7 separate regions of the Homo sapiens genome follow, and all the other regions are linked to region 6. The links are contacts of gene promoters, found by promoter capture Hi-C in blood cells and fetal thymus (Javierre and others, 2016). All regions are on one chromosome and are shown on one strand. The core of a region is centred on a gene start or on the middle of the fragment in contact, and the rest is flanking DNA. Distances in the headings are between cores, read along the strand shown.

Region 1 (2,700 bases), core at 49-2,548, 3.6 Mb before region 6:
TTGCAAGAAATATTAGCCATCACAGTCTGTTTTGAAGCATGTAACGTGTGGCATTTTCTACAGGAGGTGTTAGGGCAGAAGGATGTTGACTTTCCCTCTGAAAGGTCGTTTTGCTTGTGTTATCAAGTGTAACTAGGTTACAACCAGGAGGTACACATTGGTGATGTATTTTTAGCATTGTTCATTATATATAAAGACTTTCTGAACCTTTTGTATAATGGAGAATAATCCGTTAGATTGTCTGCCATTAGTTTGTTCTCCATATTAAGTGGTGTTTTTTTGGAATTAAAATTAAAATTTGAAGATGGGATTCATGGATTCTAACTTTGCTTTTAATGGGCTGAAAACAGTGAACTAATACTACTCTGTATGTGTAAAGTATTAGTCTAAGTTGTTACTTGCCTCGCAGGCATGTGGGTGAGAAACTGTTCTCTTCTGGGAGAATGCTGGATAAATGCTTATGTCCACACATTTCCTTTGGTTTTGTCTTCCTTTATATTTGGCTTTGATAAAAACATATGTAATCAGGCTGGGCATGGTGGCTCACGCCTGTAATTCTAGCACTTTGGGAGGTCGAGGCGGGCGGATCACTTGAGATCAGAAGTTTGAGATCAGCCTGGCCAACATAGTGAAACCCCATCTGTACTAAAAGTGCAAAAATTGGCCAGGCGTGGTGGCTCACGCCTGTAATCCCAGCACTTTGGGAGGCCGAGGTGGGTGATCACAACGTCAAGAGATTGAGACCATCTTGGCCAACGTGATGAAACCCTATCTCTACTAAAAATACAAAAATTAACTGGGTGTGGTGGTACACGCCTGTACTCCCAGCTACTCGGGAGGCTGAGGCAGGAGAATCGCTTGAACCCAGGAGGCAGAGGTTGCAGTGAGCTGAGATCATGCCACTGCACTCCAGCCTGGCGACAGAGCGAGACTCTGTCTCGGAAAAAAAAAAAGCAAAACTTAGCCAGGCATGGTAATGCGTGCCTGTAATCCCAGTTACTTGGGAGGCTGAGGCAGGAGAATCACTTGAACCCAGGAGGCGGAGGTTGCAGTGAGCCGAGATTGTGCCACTGCACTCCAGCCTGGGCAAAAAGAGTGAGACTCCATCTCAAAAAAAATGTAAGCAGAGGGAATGCTGAAAGTCCCTCCTTTCCTTTCTGTCCACCAATACCTTCATGCCCATTTCAGATCTTCCCATTTTTGTACAAAGGAAAACCTTTTTTTTTTTTAATTTTACTTTTAAGTTCTGGGATACATGTGCAGAATGTGCAGGTTTATTACATAGGTATACATGTAGTTTGCTGCACCTGTCAACCCATCATCTAGGTTTTAAGCCTTGTATTTGTCCTAATGCTCTCCCTCCCCTTCCCCCCAACCCCCCGACAGGCCACGGTGTGTGATGTTCCTCTCCCTGTGTCCATGTGTTCTCATTGTTCAACTCCTACTTATGAGTGAGAACATGTGGTGTTTGGTTTTCTGTTCCTGTGTTAGTTTGCTGAGAATGATGACTTCCAGCTTCATCCATGTCCCTGCAAAGGACATGAACTCATTCTTTTTTATGGCTGTGGAAAACCTTTTTTTAATCAGGAGAAAAGTCTGGGATTTGAGGTCTGACAGCAGGAAATGTTTCCCACATGCTATCAGGCTAACAAATACATGGGCATAATTGTTTCTTGGGACATTTTTCATCTATTGTTGGAGGAGAATATTAAAATATTTGTTTTTCTTTTTTCTTTGCAGAAACTAACAGTCTAGAACTATCTCAAGGCTCAGGAACTTTTCCTTCTGGGTATTATTATAAAGACCAGTGGAGGCCCAGAAAGTTTAAGATGCGTCAGTTTAATGACCCTGACAACATTACAGAGTGCTTACAAAGAAAAGTGGTGCATTTATTTGGTGACTCAACAATCAGGCAATGGTTTGAATACCTTACTACATTTGTTCCAGGTTGGTACTGTGCCTTTTGTTTCGTAACTCTTTCCCACATCAGCTTTGAAATAAGCAGACTCACTCAGGTGCCTGAAGAAAGGTTATCAGGTGAGGAAACATATATTTCTGTGTAGGACTAAAGAGGTACCCAAACCCTGGAGAGATGTGTGACAGTTTCTGATCAATAGCTGTGTTGTGTTGTACTCATGGAAGCACTGGGTTCTCATTGAGGTTTATGTCACTGATGAGCTGTATGACTTTGGACAAGTCATTTACTTTTTAGGGCTTCATTTCTCCATGTGTGAGATGAGACAGCTGGACCATGTCACTTCACAGGTGTCTTTCCCTTCTAATATTCTGGGTTGTAAAATAGAGGTGGGCATTTCCAGTTGTTTCTCCCCTAGTTCTGTCTCATCCAACTCCAAGTTTATAGTAGCTTTGAGTAGAAGGAAGCAGCCAGACCTATGGTAGTCCATATTGCATCCTTGCAGCAAAGCCATCCCTGTGTCATCCATTGGGCCTACCATTGGTGTGACTCTGAGATGGAGTTGGCTCCTCCTGAGGGAGTCTGGGTAAGTTCCAGCATTCTTAGCTTCTTGATTTCTCTGCTTGGCTCTGGGGCTGTTCTCCAGACTCAGAACAAAACCCCAGTGGTTGGAGGCCCACCCCTTCTTCACAAGGGCATTCTTTTCTTTCTGGAAGGGGTATGGATGAGGTAAGGAAGGAGGGATCCTGAAGGAGCAGAAATAAAGACCCTGCTTACAATTTAGA
Region 2 (2,718 bases), core at 219-2,718, 3.4 Mb before region 6:
TATTAATGATGAAAAAGTGTCAGGCTGTCGTTCAGCCATCCTTACTACTTCTGTTCCGGCATTACCAGGCTCTTCTGTAATTGTATAACACCTGTTTGTCTCCCCTACTTGTCTGAGAACTCAGAAGGCAGGAACTGGGTGAGGCAAGTAGAAGACACTCAATGAACAGCTGTTGAGTGAACCAGGGAACATCATCTCTAAGGGGAAGGAATCAGGGAATTTTCAGCTCCAATCTTCCTGTGTAATTGTTGATGAGAAAAATCTATATTCATCTTCACTGCATTTACACAGTTGACAAGAACGGTCTTATTTATAGAAGCCACTTTATGGTGTTATTTTTCACGATATAGTTACATTCTCAAACTTGCATGTTCTCTTGAAACCAATGAGAGGGGTGGTGAGCATAGGAAGTGTAGTGGAAACAAAGTAGATGTGATGAAAAATGGCGCAAGATTCTGGGTTGATTTTACTCTTATTTCAATTTACATTTACATTTTTTGAGTATGTACAATATTCTAGACTGTTTCAAGGATACTAGACTTTGTATCTGATTTCAAAGAATTTATACTGTCATGGTGAGGAGGGGGACAGAAAGGAGACTTCTTAAGTAACCAAAGAAATTAGAGAACAAGAAAAAACTGTATGTAACAAAATATCCAACTGAATTGTGAGGTGGTACAGCTTAGTCTTTAGAGGCACAGGCTTTTAAATCAGACTAGGACTGGTACTGGTTCTACCATTACTAGCTCTGAGATCCTGGAGAAGTTATGTGACCTAATCTTATTTATTTATTTGCAAAGTGGGAATGACAATAATTATATTTACACTATAAGGTTATGAGATTAAATAATATTCATGTACACTGTATATCCCACAAGGAGTATCAGATCAATGAATGATAATGATAATTATATAATAATTATAATCTTAGTGATTAAAGGTGACAATGGAAAGGACTAGGAAAACAGCTCCAGTAACTGAGGCTATTTTAAAATTTCTGTTTCTAATCCACATGAAATAGAATGTTTTGCTAAAAGATGGTATTGGTTACTTGTAGACAAATTAAAATCATATAATCGATAGGCTTTGATAAAAAACATTGAGAACAGTGCTTGCTTTGGCAAACATTACTAAGTGAACATCTTGAACTTTCTTCTCAAAAGAACACAGTTAAGAGTCCAGAGAGTTGCTTTATTTCTGACAACCAAAAGGGCTATCTTCCTTGTCCAAATTATAACCATGCAGTCCAAGGGAAATACGTGTACTTTTAGAGAACAACAGCTTTGATTCTGGGAAAGGAAATACATGCTATAGAGAGTAGCCCTGAGAAATTGTTGAAGTTTGATAATGTTGCAAAACTGAATTTCTATTTGTGACCAACATAAACATTTTTCTTCCCTTTAGAATATGAGCTCCAGTCTTTTGGAGAAAATCTTTTTCTCTTCCTGATATTGGCTATTCATTTTATGTTTTACTGAGAATGAGGACAGTCCACGTGAATTCTCTCAATATCTCTTGAAGGGTTACCCTCTTTTCCTTTTTTCTACCTCAGCACAAGGTAACTTGCTTTTTTCCTTGCCAAGAACACTGCTCTTAATTCTATTACTGCTCACCTCCTCTCAGTTTTGCTCCATCCTTTAAGCCCTATCTTTCTTCCATCTTCAATCTCCAATCTCTCCTCCTCTGCCACAAATATGGCCAGCCCTCTGTATCCTAAAATAACCCCCCTCTGACCCTGCTGCTGTAGCAGGTTACTGCCTTATCTTTCTTCCGTTTATTACCACACTTCTTCTAAAAGAATACAAATTCTGCTTTCACTTCCTGCTTATACATTCACTTCTTAACCCCTTGTAATATGGTTTCTACCTTTACCCCTCTATGAAACCACCTTCTGGAAAATCACTGAGAGTTTAGTTTCATATCCAACAAATCTAATGGACTTGTCTCAGTCCTCATTCTCCCTGTTGTCTCTGCAGAAATTTCAGTTTGTTGAATGTTCTCCTTCTATAGCCTCTGTGATACCATAGCCTGCTGGTTCTTTTATCTTTCTGGAAACTTCTCTTCCACCTCCTTCACTAGCTGCTTTTTCTTTCTACTGCTCCATAAATAAAATAAAATCTTCTCCACATTCTTTGCCTCATGTGACTTCTTATCTACTCACATTGCTTTACACATGAATTTCTTCAATCTTTTTTCCCTTCATCTCAAAATCTTTCTCCTGATGATTCTAAAATCTAGCAATTTCCAATTGCTGTTAAGACTTTCTTACTTAGGTAACCAGCCAGGATTTTAAACTCAGTGTATCTAAAATGAAGCCCATTAACTTATGTTCATCAAACTCCAAACTCCAACTGATTGTCTCTATTTTGTTTTTATAAATGACACCACTATTAATGAATCATCTTTCACAACTCACAAGTAATTTTTTATTCGTCCTTACTTCTCACACCCTGTGCCTACTAAATTATGGAGTAAGGAAGATTCTATAGGCTTTGTGGTACACAGGGTGGGAAGAGCATCTATTTTGCTGTCAGATAAGTCTGAGTTCAGATCATGGTTTTGCTACTTACTACCCTTTTGGTCTTGAGCCAGTTAGTTAAGCTCACCAGAGTCTTGATATCCTTATGTATAAAGCAGGGAATATAACATTCCCTACCTAGCCAATTGAGAGGATTGGATGAGAGCTGCACATTTTATGTGGAGTCCTAAATAAATACT
Region 3 (2,783 bases), core at 80-2,579, 3.7 Mb before region 6:
AGGTTAAATAAATGTCAAGGGCTAACGACTACATCCTGCATATACAAGCTTGATCAATGTTACCTATAGTTACAATTATCATCTTTAACAAATCCTGAAGTATTAAATCTGAGACATTTGTTCAACAAACTAATGTCTACCCAAACCCATCCAAACAAAATGCACTGATTACTTCATTACCTCATAATTTAATCTTCGCATTTGTCTGTCCTTACAGGAATTTAATTCAGATATTGGTTTAAAGTGGAAAATAAATGGAAGAATTTGATTATCCAATAGTTCGTAAACGAATAAACTTGATGATGTTTATAAACCGAAAAGAACTTTAGAAACTATTCAGTAATTTCGTTATTCACAGACGAAGTAACCAAGATTTGAATGAAATAACTTTTCTGTAGCCATATTGGAGAGTGACAGCACTGTTCCTAACAAAATTTCTTAAATGGGACTATAAACTATTAACTAATTCTGACAGTTTGAATATTCATTAACTGTGGAGAGTGAAGATGGTTAAGAAGCCAAGGACACTTGCTATCCTCCCTTACAACTGGTTCCCAAGGAGTCAAGTAACTTCAGAGCTGTATTTTTTGACAATCAAAAAGTCACAGTAATCGTACCTTTTCTGCGTATATACAATGCTACACAGTTCCCAAACGCGTTTTTCACATCATTAGGGGAAAGATTATTAAAACATTCAGAGTTACGAATATCAAGCTGGGCGCCGTGGCTCATGCCTGAAATCCCAACACTTTGGGAGGCCGAGGCGGGAGGATGGCTTGAGGCCAGATGGAGACCAGCTTGGGGAACGAGGCGAGACCCGTGTCTACTCAAACACCCCGCCCCCGCAAAACCAAACAACAAAAACAGTAACTGATATCTTTTACATTTACTTCTTGTTCTTAAAAAAAAACGCTCAAGGCGATTTCTCAATCACTCCTTATCACTTCTGCAAATAATTGTATTATTCCTTATTTACGCAGCAGCGGCAAAATTTGAGGAACACTAGCGAATGTGTCCAGAGCAGCTCATACTCGCTCGCCAAAACCCAAGCGCAGCACTAAAGAAACGGGAGACCCGGCTTCGGGTGACTCGTCCCCCCTTCCAAACGTCAGCACAGTCGAAAACGTGCACCCCGCAGCCTCCACTGCCGCGAGCCACACGCCACCTCCAGAGGGCCGGGGCCTACAGCCTCAAGGGGCCGCCCAAGGAGGCGGACCTGGCGCAGCCCAGGCGTCCGGCCCCTCCCCGCGGCTGGCCCGGCCTCCGGGGAAGCCCCCTTGGTCCCACCCAGGGCCAGGGCCCGCCCCCAGCTTCGCCGGCCTCCTTCCTGTGGGAAGTGCGGCTCCTTTCGCGTCCCCCACCCTCTCGGCTCCGCCTGGCAGCAGCTCCGCCGCCCAGAGGCGTCCGAGACCCTCCGACTCGTGGGTACGCATAGGCCTCGCCAGCGAGCCTTGCCCAGGCAACGAGTCGCCAGCCCGCCCCCTCGCCGCGGGCTAGGTCTCACCTCGCCACCAGTACGTCTTGGACAAGTAGTGCCAGGTCTGATGCCGGGTGTGGTGAGTGCCGCCGGGACCCAGGTGCGCCGCCTCGATGAGGTCCCGGCGTCGCTCCGGCTGCAGCACCACCTCCAGCTCCGCGAAGGTCTTGCGGTGCCGCTGCCGCCGCTGGTAATACAGAGTCCCGCCGCGCACCACGTAGCAGGCGGCAGCTTTTCGGATTTTACGCTTGACATTGCCCTCGGTGCCCGGCGCATACGGCTCGCGCTCGTTCGTCAGGTAACGCAGGATGGCCCGGTAGCTTTCCTCGCTTGACATCGCGGACCGCGGCTCCCTGAGGGCGCCTGTCAGGGACAGGTGAGGAAAACGGCCCGCTACCTACGGGCGGCTGCAGGAGGAGCGGCGGCACCGTAGGGAGAAACGGCTGCGCCTTTGGCGAGCGCTCTTCGACGGCTCCCTTAGTCCGAAGGAAAAGCGGGCGAGTTGGTAACCAGGGGGAACTGCACTTCTCCAGCGCGCGGGATCCGCTGGCGACTGACAAAATGGCTGCTGCACCACCGGAAGTGACGCAAGGCAAGGGCGGGGACTGAGCCCTGATTGGAGCGCACTCTCGTTTTCTGGCTTGATGGAGCCGATCCAGTGACGTCAGGAATGCGGGTGGACATTTTGGAAGCGGGTAGGACCCTTCACTGCAGTTCGAGGGAGTCTTTAAGCAGACATCTTAAGTCCTGGCAGTTTCTCTTTTCATTTTTCCCTTTTCCACGCTTTCTAAGGAGCCACGTGTAGGGGGAGCTGGTGGACAGTTGAGAGTTCAGCCGAAACATCCAGAGGGTTAGGAGTCCGTTTTTACGTTTGAGACTCCCAACATCATAAAAGCATATTTTCAGGCTTCTGGAAAAATATTAGTCTCTTGACACGGGACCAGAGACAGCCCATTTACATGGAAATTTAGATTCCAGTTAACAGTTATAAAATTTTCAGTGCCTCCCTCAGTGATGAGTTATTGTTTCTAAACTTGCACCTGCTAGCTCCAGACTACTCAAGGAAGAGTCGAGATTCTTTTGGAATTATCAGCATTTATAGTCAATGTTATTGCGAGTGGAAAAGGGGGTCGGTAACACTATTTTAAGGCTTTATTTACATATATTTTTACACAAACGTAGGGGAAAAGGTTCTCCATTTTGCACCAAATATATATGAGGGTGCAAGAAGGGGAGCGGACTTGAGCTGCGTCTCCCAGTGCGTGCTGAGGATGCTAATACAGGTATTTAGCTGGTAATCCCGGAG
Region 4 (2,856 bases), core at 265-2,764, 3.5 Mb before region 6:
TGGGTAAAGTTCATCATTATAAATAGAAACCAGAAAACACTCTCATGAGCTAAGAACCATTTACAGGGTGAAAGTTAGGAAAGTGCACTTGTTTCATGTGGATGTTTTGTGTGAGTTTTGATTATTACTATTAGAAAGTGTGGTACACAGGTAGCCCTTCAGACTAACACCAAACATCACTCCTTCATATATATGATTTTGTATGAACCATATGCATTTTATAGTATGTGGATATTTTCTGAAATCAAATGGAAGAACTTTTCATTTCTTTAGAAATGAAATGTTAAAGGGGAAGAAAAATTTGTTTTGTTTTCAGTTTAAACACTTGGATTTCTGCTGGGCTAGAAAGATGGGATGCTGCAAAGGTATTTCAGGGTACTGTAGCATTGCTGTGATTCAGGGTCTGTTTATAAGGCATCTGTTTATTGGGATGTTCAACTGTGTGACCTGACTTTGTGCAAGGTGCCTCTCTGGCTGCCCATCAGGGGACAGACCTTGTGTACCTGCTGGAAAGCAGTGGAGTTACTTTACATAGTGGACGACTCACTCACACCTAGTGGGTGCTCAGAAAATATTTGTGAAGAGGACAAAGTGGTATATGGCATCTCCTTTGATGCTTTCATATAAAAGGAAGTTGCAGAGAGATGACTCCGGGGACACTATTAATTTTGTCTTCACACAATCAGTCCATAATATGCAAAGTTGTACATACTATACATACAGTACTTAACGGGGTATCAAGTTTATTCTCTTAGCACTGAGCAGGATGTTCTGAGATGTGCAAACCTTTTGCTAATTCATCTGTATGATGATTAGGTTACTGGTTGGAGAAATTTCCTCAATATGGTATACTGTGCTTTGATATCAGGTGCTAATAATTTGCTGCAAACAGGACCTAGAGAATTACTTTTAAAGACAACCTTTTGATCTTTCCAGATTAAAACATACAAAAGAATAGGTTACACTCTTGTAAGGAAAAAGCTTACAGAACTTACTAACTACAGCTGTCTGTGCCATAGCCTGGTTGGTCAGGTGGCCTATTGGGAAGTATATAAGTGCCAGTAGAACTGAGTTCATATGTCTCAGAAGTAGTAATTGTTTCTATTACATGGATACCATATGGACCAGAATGTTCATACAGCCAGGTATAAGCTCCACAAAGACAGAGATTAGTGTTTGTCTGAGGTACCGCTGTGCCCCAGTACTTAGAAAAGTACCTGACATTTATAAAGCACTACCATATTGAAGAATAACTAGAATTTGAAAATATGTGGTCTGATTTACTCATCTGCATTAGAAAAATCTGTTAGAATACCCTGAAGTTTAAATGTTTCTTGAGATGTTGAAGTATGTTTTACATTGCTATGGGGATAATAAATTATTATTTTTAAGGAAAAGCATTCAACAAATCAACATATAAGATGATATCTGTTTTGAAAGCTCCTGAAAGATTTTATGTTCTTTACAAAGAATTCTGGGCAAAAGGCAGCTGGGTTTTTATATTTACAAGATAGATGAAAATAGTTTTATAATAATCCAAGTGCAGAGAATGAGGAGATTCTAATTCAAGGGGCCAAAGTATTTGTTTTGATGTCTGTACGGTATTGACATAAAATAATTTTGGAAGCATTTCCACTTGTTTCTACCATCCAGTTAAATATGTACCAAGTAACTACCTACTAAGTAACAGGTACTTGGCTATTGACAAGGGATACATGTCTTGGGAGCTTATAGTGGAATAGAGGAGACAGACTCATAAATGGTTAATTTTAGCACATCCTAAGAGCTATGATAGAAGTCTGTGTGGGGACTGAGAGGAAAGGCCCTTAGTCCAGAAGTGGGGTTGAGAGTTGGGGTCAGGGGAGGAAGGGAGGGTCAGGAAAGGCTCCAGAAGTGTTGGATATTAAGTGAGTCTTGAGTGAGTGTTGGGTATTAAGTGAGCATGAGATTTTGGTTGAGGAAGAGGAGAGAAGAACAGCAAGAGCAAAGTCTCAGAGCTGTGGGAAACTATACTCAGTTTCGTGTTACTGAAGGTAATGAGGAAGATGAAGCTTGTGAGGAAGGCAGGACTTGGACATCTGTCATTCTAAGAAGACTGGACTCCATGCTAAAAGCAGTAGAGAGCCACTGAAGGATTTTTAAATAGTGTAGAGCAAGCTTGTCCAACCTGTGGCCCATGGGCTGCATGTGGCCCAGGATGGCTTTGAATGTGGCCCAACACAAATTCATAAACTCTCTTAAAACATTATGAGATTCTTTTGTGATGTTTTTTCTTTTTCTTTTTTCATTTTCTTTTCTTTTCTTTTTTTTTTTTTTTTAGCTCTTCAGCTGCCATTAGTGTTAGTGTATTTTATGTGTGGCCCAAGACAATTCTTCTTCCAGTGTGGCCCAGGGAAGCCAAAAGATTGAACACCCCTGGTGTGGAGGAATTCTTAGAAGAATTCCTGGCATTCCAGCATTCCATTGGTATGCCGATGGCAGTCTGGAGGATGGGTTTTAAGTGGGCAAGGCTGGATGGGTGATCATTTGCATCAAGTAAGAGATAAAGGCCTGTCTTGGATAGTGGAAATTAGAGATGGAGAAGAGAGGAGGGTTTCAGAACCAGGTGTTCAACAATTATGAGTCCAATCTGGAACTTTTGAGTTGACTGATAGGACATTGCCTACATTCGATCCCTAAAAATTATTTAAATCTGTACTTACTAATTTATTTTTAAAAACTGTATTTTCTAAAAAAAAAAAAAAAAAAAAAAAAAAAACTTCATGCAAACAGTATTGTTTCACATCTTTGCAAATTTCTTAACATCCGGTTTTACAGAAGACAGATTTTCATATTTGCTTCTGCATTTAATTTGTT
Region 5 (2,724 bases), core at 14-2,513, 3.8 Mb before region 6:
AACTGCCCATTCTTCCCTTTCCCCAGCCCCTGGTAAACACTATTCTACTTTCTTTCTTTATGATTTGACTATTCTAGGCACTTCATATAGGTGGACTTATACAATATTTGTCCTTTTGTGCCTGGCTTATCTCAGTGTATAATGCCTCCAAAGTTTATCCATGTTGTACCATGTATCAGAACTTCATTCCTTTTTAAGACTGAATAATATTCCATTGTATGTACATGCAACATTTTTTAATCTATTCATCTGTTCATGGATATTTGGGTTGCTTCCACCTTTTGGTTATTATCAATAATGCTACAATGACATTAGAGTACAAGTGTCTGTTTGTGTCTCTGCTTTCAATTTCTTTGGGTATATTACTAGGAGTAGAATGGCTGCAGAATATGTTCATTCTGTGTTTGGTTACAAATATATGTGGAGGCTGAATTGGCCCCAAAGGCCACCAATTTACAAATGTGTTTTAATTTCATTTCACATTAAACTTTCCAAATGAGCTAGGAGGAGACAGAAACTTACCGTGGCTTATCACGTTCCAAGCATAGTGCCAGGTACTGGTGATAAACTGGTCAAAAAGATTAGGAGTTTAAAGTCCTAGCGTCAAGGAGTTTGAAGCTGAGTAAGAAGACGTGTGAAAAAAACATACTTTATTTTAGTACTCTGTCAGCAAATGTTTATAAATACAGGGCCCAAACAGAGAGTAGGTTGAAAAGAGGATTAGAAACAGTTTTTTTTTTTTTTTTTTTTTTTTTTTGAGACAGAGAGTCTTGCTCTGTCGCCCAGGCTGGAGTGCAGTGGCGCGATCTCAGCTCACCGCAACCTCCGCCTCCCAGGTTCAAGCGATTCTCCTGCCTCAGCCTCCCGAGCAACTGGGATTACAGGCGCGCGCCACCACACCTGGCTAATTTTTGTATTTTTAGTAGAGACGGGGTTTCACTATGTTGGCCAGGCTGGTCTCAAACTCCTGACCCCAAGTGATCCGCCCGCCTCGGCCGCCCAAAGCACTGGGATAACAGGCGTAAGCCAACTGGCCCGGCCCAGAAGAAGTTTTTAGGATATATGGAGGAAAACACAACACAACACAGCTACAACTCCGTGACAACTGAGAGCGTAGTCTTCGAGTACCCAGTTGCCTACTGACAGCCGTCTCCTCTAAGGCGCTTCTTTTAGCCAAGAAAGCGTTCTTTGCGTGCTGTGACGTAAAAAGCAGCGCCGGAAGGGAGAGGGCGGAACTTCCGGCTGAGCCCCAGCGACCGCTCTGGTCGGCTGTGTAGACTGTTGGGTAGGCTGCGTGCTAGCTTCGGCGCGGATCCCTGGGCGTCCGTACGTCGGAGTCCTTCGTCCTCCAGGGTCCCTGTTCTTTGCGCCAGCGGGAACCACTATCTCTGCACTCCTGGTAAGCGAGTTTCTTCTTTCGCCTAATGTGTGTGTTGGGGGTGGGAGGACGCCGGAGACGTTCCAAGATGCACTTAGTGGAGCATGTGCGTTCGGAAGGCCCACGGGTAAGAGGAAGCCCAGTGATTTTAATAAACTATAACTAGTACAGTACCTGAAACAAAATCAGTGGTTCCTGAAATGATGTACTTGATTGCTTTTTACAATTGGGGTTTTCATTTCTGTGGTATTCTAAGTCCTTGCCAGTTACAAGAATAAAACTTTTAAAACTCCTTCTGAAATCAATGTTTATTAGATTGGGGCCTGGGGACCCCAGTTAAATATTTCCGGGATTCTAAAGTAAATTGTTTTCTCTTTAAAGGGAGGCTGAGCCGGGCGCGGTGGCTCACGCCTGTAATCCCAGCACAATGAGAGGCCGAGGTGGGCGGATCACGAGGTCAGGAGATCCGAGACCATCCTGGCTAACACAGTGAAACCCCGTCTGTACTAAAAATACAAAATAGCCGGGCGTGGTGGCGGGTGCCTGTAGTCCCAGCTACTCGGGAGGCTGAGGCAGGAGAATGGCGTGAACCCTGGGAGGCGGAGCTTGCGCCGAGATCGCGCCACTATACTCCAGCCTGGAGTGACAGAGCGAGACTCCGTCTCAAAAAAAATAATAAAGGGAGGCTGAACTTTTTTTTTCTTTTTTTTTTTTTTAATGAAGGAAGCATCGATCTAGGGTATTAGAAAAATATTTGCGTGATTACTGTGAGCCAAATACTGTCAAGCATTGGATTCAATGTTAACATTATAGACAAAGTCCTTGTCCTCATGGACACTAGTTAGTCCTTACCATCTAGTGAGGCAAATAGATAACCAGGCAATTACAGTGCAGTGTTAGAAGTACTGTCATAGGCACCAGAGTGCTGTGAAAAGTAATGGTGGAATACTTGAAGTGTGAGGTGAAGAATAGCTAGAGATGCTGCTGACCTGGCCGCAATAAGCTTAGAAATATATGTTGGGAACAATACCAATGGATAGCAATATCCCTTGAAACAGAACATTGAAGGAGGATCAGATTGTGAAGCAAAGGTAGAGGGGTTATTTCGATTTGTTGCGTTTGAGGTGTTTTTTGTTTGTTTTTGTTGTTTTGAGACAGTCTTACTCTGTCGCTCACTGCAACAGATTTTGTTGCAAAATCTCGGCTCACTGCAACTTCCGCCCCCCTTATTCAAGCGATTCTTCTACATCAGCCTCACGAGTACCTGGGAAGTAGAAGAATCGCCCCACTTCAGCCTCACGAGTACCTGGGATTACAGGCATGCGCCACCACACCTGGCTAATTTT
Region 6 (2,900 bases), core at 390-2,889:
GCCTTCCTGTTGATTCATAAGATGCAAATGAAATGTTAATGTTTAAACCAAGTGGGAGAAACTACTTATTTTGAGAGGAAAAAAATATGGTATAAAAGCTCTACTCTAGAATATTGTTAATGTAAGGAGAACTGGAAGAACAGGACAAGCAGGCTTTTGAGAAAAATCACAGCTGAAGATAGGGCTTAATAGTTTAGAGCACTAAAAGATAAACAATTTTAAAAATCAGTGTGTGAGTGTGTGTGTGTGTGTGTGTGTCTGTGTGTTGCGAGTCTCCAATCTCGCTGGTAACTCGCAGTTTTCTGATGAAAGTGCAGTATGTAACGATTACTAGTTGGCATCCTCTGCTGGAGACCAGTCTCACAAAAGGGTGACCCTGTGATGCACGAAAGGCTATTTAATGCCCCAGCGAAGTGCTTCAGGGACCAAGATTTTATTATTCTTTGGTGATGAGAGTTGTGATCCTGCATCCCTGATTTAGAGCCACTTAGGGCTCCGACAGCTCCACCCCGGTGTTCTAGAGGAAAATCTTCCTTCATGCTCTCTGCCTGATTTGAAAGCAACACAGCTTCCCGATGTTCCTCCTGGGAGGTGGTTCAATCTTTAGAAATTGCCTAAGAAGCCTGTCCATCTGCTGGAGTGCCTGGCTTTCGGGAACGGACCAAGACGGACTTGGCTTTTAATCTGAAATAATTTGAGGATTTTCTGTCTATAACTTAAAATCACCGCTTAACTCAAAGTAAAAAAGTGACACGCTCTCTAGAGGGCTTTTGTAGACATTGGGAAAATCCGTATGACGAAGTACGGTTTAGAAATTCCGGATTTAATTTCCCCCGGGAAAAGCAAATATCTTCTGTTGGTACCGGGCAGTCGACTCACGTAGTCTTCCTTTAAAACCAAGTCTATGCCAGCCGGGTGTGAGGGGAGTGGTGGGGGTGAGCAGGGGGAGGAGAGAGATTCGAAAAGTACAGGAGGAATCAGTCCAGTACAGGGGTTGCCCCTGCCAACAAGTAGCTATTCCTGTTAACTCCCAAGAAGCAAGTTTCCACCTTTGCCACTTCCTCCTGCCCTTTCCTTTCCTTTTCCCTTCACTCCCGCTCTTGGACCCAAGGTTCGCTCCCCACCGCCACCGCCCTGCCCCACTATTCTCTTTACAGGACAGAAGGCTGCAGCAGCACGGCGGAGAAAAATCTCTGAGGAATGAGTCAGTGGGATGGGCGTATGGGTGGAGGGAGAGGGCAGTCGATTTTTAAACCTCAGCGAGGGTGGGTGGGCAGTTGGAAGCCAGAGGCCTTATCACTGGGGCGCTGCAACATCACAGAAAGTGTTAGTCCCAGGGCTCTCCCTGGCGCGCGCGGCTCCTGTGCTTGCTTCTTATTGGCGGACCTGGCCCTGGGGGCGGAGCCGCGGTGAAGCACCGCTCATCCGGGCTCCAGGACCGGGGCACGCGGTTCTCCCTGATCCCGGAGCTGGGCTCAGGGCTCGGACTCAGTCCTGCAGCGCCTCTAGGCTGCGGATCCGCGCTTCAACCACCTGCTTTGCGCTGCGTCCGGGGAAGTGGGGAGGAGACGGGAGGGAGGGAGGAGGCGGGGAGAGGAGGAAAGAGGCAGCTTACACACGCCTTCCAGTCCCTCTACTCAGAGCAGCCCGGAGACCGCTGCCGCCGCTGCCGCTGCTACCACCGCTGCCACCTGAGGAGACCCGCCGCCCCCCCGTCGCCGCCTCCTGCGAGTCCTTCTTAGCACCTGGCGTTTCATGCACATTGCCACTGCCATTATTATTATCATTCCAATACAAGGAAAATAAAAGAAGATACCAGCGAAAAGAACCGCTTACACCTTTCCGAATTACTCAAGTGTCTCCTGGAAACAGAGGGTCGTTGTCCCCGGAGGAGCAGCCGAAGGGCCCGTGGGCTGGTGTTGACCGGGAGGGAGGAGGAGTTGGGGGCATTGCGTGGTGGAAAGTTGCGTGCGGCAGAGAACCGAAGGTGCAGCGCCACAGCCCAGGGGACGGTGTGTCTGGGAGAAGACGCTGCCCCTGCGTCGGGACCCGCCAGCGCGCGGGCACCGCGGGGCCCGGGACGACGCCCCCTCCTGCGGCGTGGACTCCGTCAGTGGCCCACCAAGAAGGAGGAGGAATATGGAATCCAAGGGGGCCAGTTCCTGCCGTCTGCTCTTCTGCCTCTTGATCTCCGCCACCGTCTTCAGGCCAGGTGAGCAAGGGCCTGGGAGCAGCCCCAGACAGACGTGGGCCTGGAGCAGTTTCCTAGGTCCCCGTCCCAGCCTCGCACCCCCGAGGCAGTGCGCCCAGGCGCGTGGTGGAGGTAAGGGGACCGCTGTCCTGGCACAGAGCTGTCCCCGGGCTCGGTCACCTGTGCCGCACGTTTGGGCTTGGCTGGTTAGCTCAAGTTTGGGCATCAAGCTGGGGAAACTGGGTGAATCTCCAGGAACTTGGTGCTCCGGGGTGGGCAGGATTCGCCTGACGCTCTCCCCTTGTCCCTGCGGCTCCCAGCTAGGCGGCGGACTCTTGCCCTCTGACAGTTCCTCCTGTCTCTGGGTATCCAAGTCCACGTCACTGCGCCCCGAGCAGTTTTTCTTTCGCTTAGTTCTCGGATGAAATAACTGCCGGCACTTTTTCGTGATAAATCCCCTAGTAACTTCCCCTTGGTGAGCCGAGGAAGGGATGGGAGGGGTAGAGAAGGAGAGGACTTTAATCACCTCCCCCCGCCCCCCTTGCGAAACCTGCTAAAGCTTAAAATCGTGGTTTCAACGTTACCCCCTGCGGTCCCCGTCCATTGTCTGGGCGGGTGGTGAGTGAAAGGGTGACCGCAGGCAGATAACACAGCCAGAACAGGAATTAGTAGGTAGGCCTGGGAGACACCTCAGTGAGAGGTTTGTGAA
Region 7 (2,767 bases), core at 39-2,538, 3.6 Mb before region 6:
TAATTCAGACAGCTTGGCTTCTAATCCTCTGCTGCTTCTAACCTACATGGCCTTGAGCAAATTATTAAGCTATTCTTTTTTTTTTTTAATTTTTTTTTTTTATTATACTTTAAGTTTTAGGGTACATGTGCACATTGTGCAGGTTAGTTACATATGTATACATGTGCCATGCTGGTGCGCTGCACCCACTAACGTGTCATCTAGCATTAGGTATATCTCCCAATGCTATCCCTCCCCCCTCCCCCGACCCCACCACAGTCCCCAGAGTGTGATATTCCCCTTCCTGTGTCCATGTGATCTCATTGTTCAATTCCCACCTATGAGTGAGAATATGCGGTGTTTGGTTTTTTGTTCTTGCGATAGTTTACTGAGAATGATGGTTTCCAATTTCATCCATGTCCCTACAAAGGACATGAACTCATCATTTTTTATGGCTGCATAGTATTCCATGGTGTATATGTGCCACATTTTCTTAATCCAGTCTATGATTGTTGGACATTTGGGTTGGTTCCAAGTCTTTGCTATTGTGAATAATGCCGCAATAAACATACGTGTGCATGTGTCTTTATAGCAGCATGATTTATAGTCATTTGGGTATATACCCAGTAATGGGATGGCTGGGTCAAATGGTATTTCTAGTTCTAGATCCCTGAGGAATCGCCACACTGACTTCCACAATGGTTGAACTAGTTTACAGTCCCACCAACAGTGTAAAAGTGTTCCTATTTCTCCACATCCTCTCCAGCACCTGTTGTTTCCTGACTTTTTAATGATTGCCATTCTAACTGGTGTGAGATGATATCTCATAGTGGTTTTGATTTGCATTTCTCTGATGGCCAGTGATGATGAGCATTTTTTCATGTGTTTTTTGGCTTATTAAGCTATTCTTTGCCTCAGTTTCCTTGTCTCTAAAATGGACATAATAACAGGACTTACCACATGTGATAATTTGAACATTGAATTTAAAGATTCATGTAAACTGTTTACAAGAGTATCCAGCACATAAGTGATCACAATAAATGTTGGCTGTTTCTGCTACTGCTGTTTTTTAATTTTTCTTTCTTTTAAGCACAGGGTCTCACTCTGTTGCCCAGGCTAGAGTGCGGTGGCACAGTCATTGTTCACTGTAACCTCTAACTCCTGGGCTCAAGCAATCCTCATATATATACACATATATATGTATGTGTATATATGTATGTATATATGTATGTAGATATATGTCTATATATATAATGTATATATATGTGTGTCTATATATATATATATATTTTTTTTTTTTTTCTTTTAAAGTTTTTGAGACAAAGTCTTGTTCTGTTGTCCAGGCTGGAGTGCAGTGGCACAATCTCAGCGTACTGCAACCTCTGCCTCCTGGGTTCAAGCAATTCTCGTGCTTCAGCCTCCTGAGTAGCTGAGATTACAGGTGTGTACCACCACACCCAGCTAAATTTTTGTATTTTTAGTAGAGACAGGGTTTCACCATGTTGCCCAGACTAGTCTCGAACTCTTGAGCTCAAACGATCCCGATCTGTCCACCTCTGCCTCCCAAAGTGCTAGGATTACAGGCGTGAGCCACTGTGCCCAGCCCAGTTTTAATTTATATTTATTTATTTATTTGTTAGAGACAAGGTCTTGCTCTGTTGCTCTGGCTGGAGTTCCATGGTGTGATCATAGCTCACTACAACCTGGAGCTCCTGGGTTCAGTGATCTTCCCAGCTCAGCCTTCCGTGTAGCTAGGACTACAGGCATATGCCACCACGCTTGGCTAACTTTAAAAAAAAATTCTTGTAGAGATGGGGGTCTTGCTATGTTTCCCAGGTTGGTCTTGAACTCCTGGCCTCAAGCAGTTCTTCTGCTTCAGCCTCCCGAAGTGTTGGAATTACAGGCATGAGCCACTGCACCTGATCTACTACTGTTAACATAATGAAAGATGAGGCCTCTGCTTCATTCTCCTTCCACAATTTGTAAAATTAATTTTATTTCTATATATAACATTAAATAATGTATCTAGTCCTTTTATTTCCCCAACAGCATAATATATCTTAACTTCCTGCTCTAAGTGATGAAGAAAGCCCTACTCATTCTTATTTATTTATTTGTTATTATTTTTTTGAGATGGAGTCTCATTCTGTCGCCCAGCCTGGAGTGCAGTGGCGCGATCTTGGCTCACTGCAACCTCTGCCTCCTGGGTTCAAGCAGTTCTCTCCCTCAGCCTTCCGAGTAGTTGGGATTACAGGCGCCTGCCACCACACTCAGCTAATTTTTGTATTTTTAGTAGAGATGGGGTTTCAGCATGTTGGCCAGGCTGGTCTTGAACTCCTGACCTTGTGATCCATCTGCCTCGGCCTCCCAAAGTGCTGGGATTACAGGTGTGAGCCACCGCATCTGGCCTACTTCATTCTTTTATATTTGATTTCCACTAGTTATAATATTACTTTTGCATCATTAGGTGCATTCTTTATGGATTGTATCCTTCAAGGAATTGGTCCATTTCATCTGGGTTATCAAATTTATGGGCATAGAATTGTTCATAATATTCCTTTATTCCTTTAATGTCCATGGGATCTGTAGTGATGGCTTCTCTTTCATTTCTGATATTAATAATTTGTGTCCTCCCTCTTTTTTTCTTAGCCTGGGTAGAGGGCTTATCAATTTTATCAATCTTTTAAAAAACCAGCTTTGGGTTTCATTGATTTTTCTTTATTGATTTCCTGTTTTCAAGTTCATTGATTTCTGCTATCATGTTTATTATTTTTCTTCTGCTTATTTT

Evidence for each region. Contacts are between HindIII fragments. The CHiCAGO score rates a contact against its expected background, and 5 or more counts as called.
Region 1: a fragment that was not itself captured here is called in contact with the fragment with the promoter of ALCAM in region 6 in 4 of 17 cell types (total B cells, naive B cells, monocytes and 1 more); the score reaches 13.6 in total B cells.
Region 2: a fragment that was not itself captured here is called in contact with the fragment with the promoter of ALCAM in region 6 in 1 of 17 cell types (monocytes); the score reaches 8.9 in monocytes.
Region 3: a contact is called between the fragment with the promoter of ZBTB11-AS1 here and the fragment with the promoter of ALCAM in region 6, in 3 of 17 cell types (total B cells, naive B cells and monocytes). The highest score is 11.4, in total B cells.
Region 4: a fragment that was not itself captured here is called in contact with the fragment with the promoter of ALCAM in region 6 in 1 of 17 cell types (monocytes); the score reaches 8.3 in monocytes.
Region 5: a contact is called between the fragment with the promoter of TRMT10C here and the fragment with the promoter of ALCAM in region 6, in 1 of 17 cell types (naive B cells). The highest score is 5.1, in naive B cells.
Region 7: a contact is called between a fragment that was not itself captured here and the fragment with the promoter of ALCAM in region 6, in 2 of 17 cell types (total B cells and monocytes). The highest score is 7.8, in total B cells.

What each region holds. Positions count from the first base shown.
Region 1 is chr3:101,815,055-101,817,754 of GRCh38, forward strand. It overlaps NXPE3 (neurexophilin and PC-esterase domain family member 3), which reads left to right. Exons shown (of 8, transcript NM_145037.4): 7 at 1,741-1,947. Among named protein-coding and RNA genes, the nearest start is that of NFKBIZ, 33 kb to the right of the region's middle. The HindIII fragment of the contact is 3,891 bases long and covers 1-2,700 here.
Region 2 is chr3:101,936,860-101,939,577 of GRCh38, forward strand. No RefSeq gene overlaps it. Among named protein-coding and RNA genes, the nearest start is that of RDUR, 2.6 kb to the right of the region's middle. RefSeq lists an enhancer at 58-177. The HindIII fragment of the contact is 5,235 bases long and covers 1-2,718 here.
Region 3 is chr3:101,675,101-101,677,883 of GRCh38, forward strand. It overlaps ZBTB11-AS1 (ZBTB11 antisense RNA 1), which reads left to right and starts at 1,330. Exons shown (of 1, transcript NR_024407.1): 1 at 1,330-2,783. ZBTB11 (zinc finger and BTB domain containing 11) reads right to left here and starts at 2,032. Exons shown (of 11, transcript NM_014415.4): 1 at 1,505-2,032. The coding sequence starts at 1,814. It overlaps LOC124906262 (endogenous retrovirus group K member 5 Gag polyprotein), which reads left to right and starts at 1,345. Exons shown (of 3, transcript XM_047449415.1): 1 at 1,345-2,783. RefSeq lists a silencer at 1,084-1,453 and an enhancer at 1,170-1,724. The HindIII fragment of the contact is 10,842 bases long and covers 47-2,783 here.
Region 4 is chr3:101,840,291-101,843,146 of GRCh38, forward strand. It overlaps a transcript of NFKBIZ not described here. Among named protein-coding and RNA genes, the nearest start is that of NFKBIZ, 7.8 kb to the right of the region's middle. RefSeq lists a silencer at 2,335-2,629. The HindIII fragment of the contact is 1,070 bases long and covers 980-2,049 here.
Region 5 is chr3:101,560,605-101,563,328 of GRCh38, forward strand. TRMT10C (tRNA methyltransferase 10C, mitochondrial RNase P subunit) reads left to right here and starts at 1,264. Exons shown (of 2, transcript NM_017819.4): 1 at 1,264-1,399. RefSeq lists enhancers at 1,250-1,319, 1,330-1,399. The HindIII fragment of the contact is 12,384 bases long and covers 1-2,379 here.
Region 6 is chr3:105,365,270-105,368,169 of GRCh38, forward strand. ALCAM (activated leukocyte cell adhesion molecule) reads left to right here and starts at 1,640. Exons shown (of 16, transcript NM_001627.4): 1 at 1,640-2,212. The coding sequence starts at 2,140. RefSeq lists silencers at 1,585-1,684, 2,015-2,134. The HindIII fragment of the contact is 2,798 bases long and covers 1-2,748 here.
Region 7 is chr3:101,797,336-101,800,102 of GRCh38, forward strand. The region is part of intron 4 of NXPE3 (neurexophilin and PC-esterase domain family member 3); the gene reads left to right. Among named protein-coding and RNA genes, the nearest start is that of NXPE3, 20 kb to the left of the region's middle. The HindIII fragment of the contact is 7,104 bases long and covers 1-2,767 here.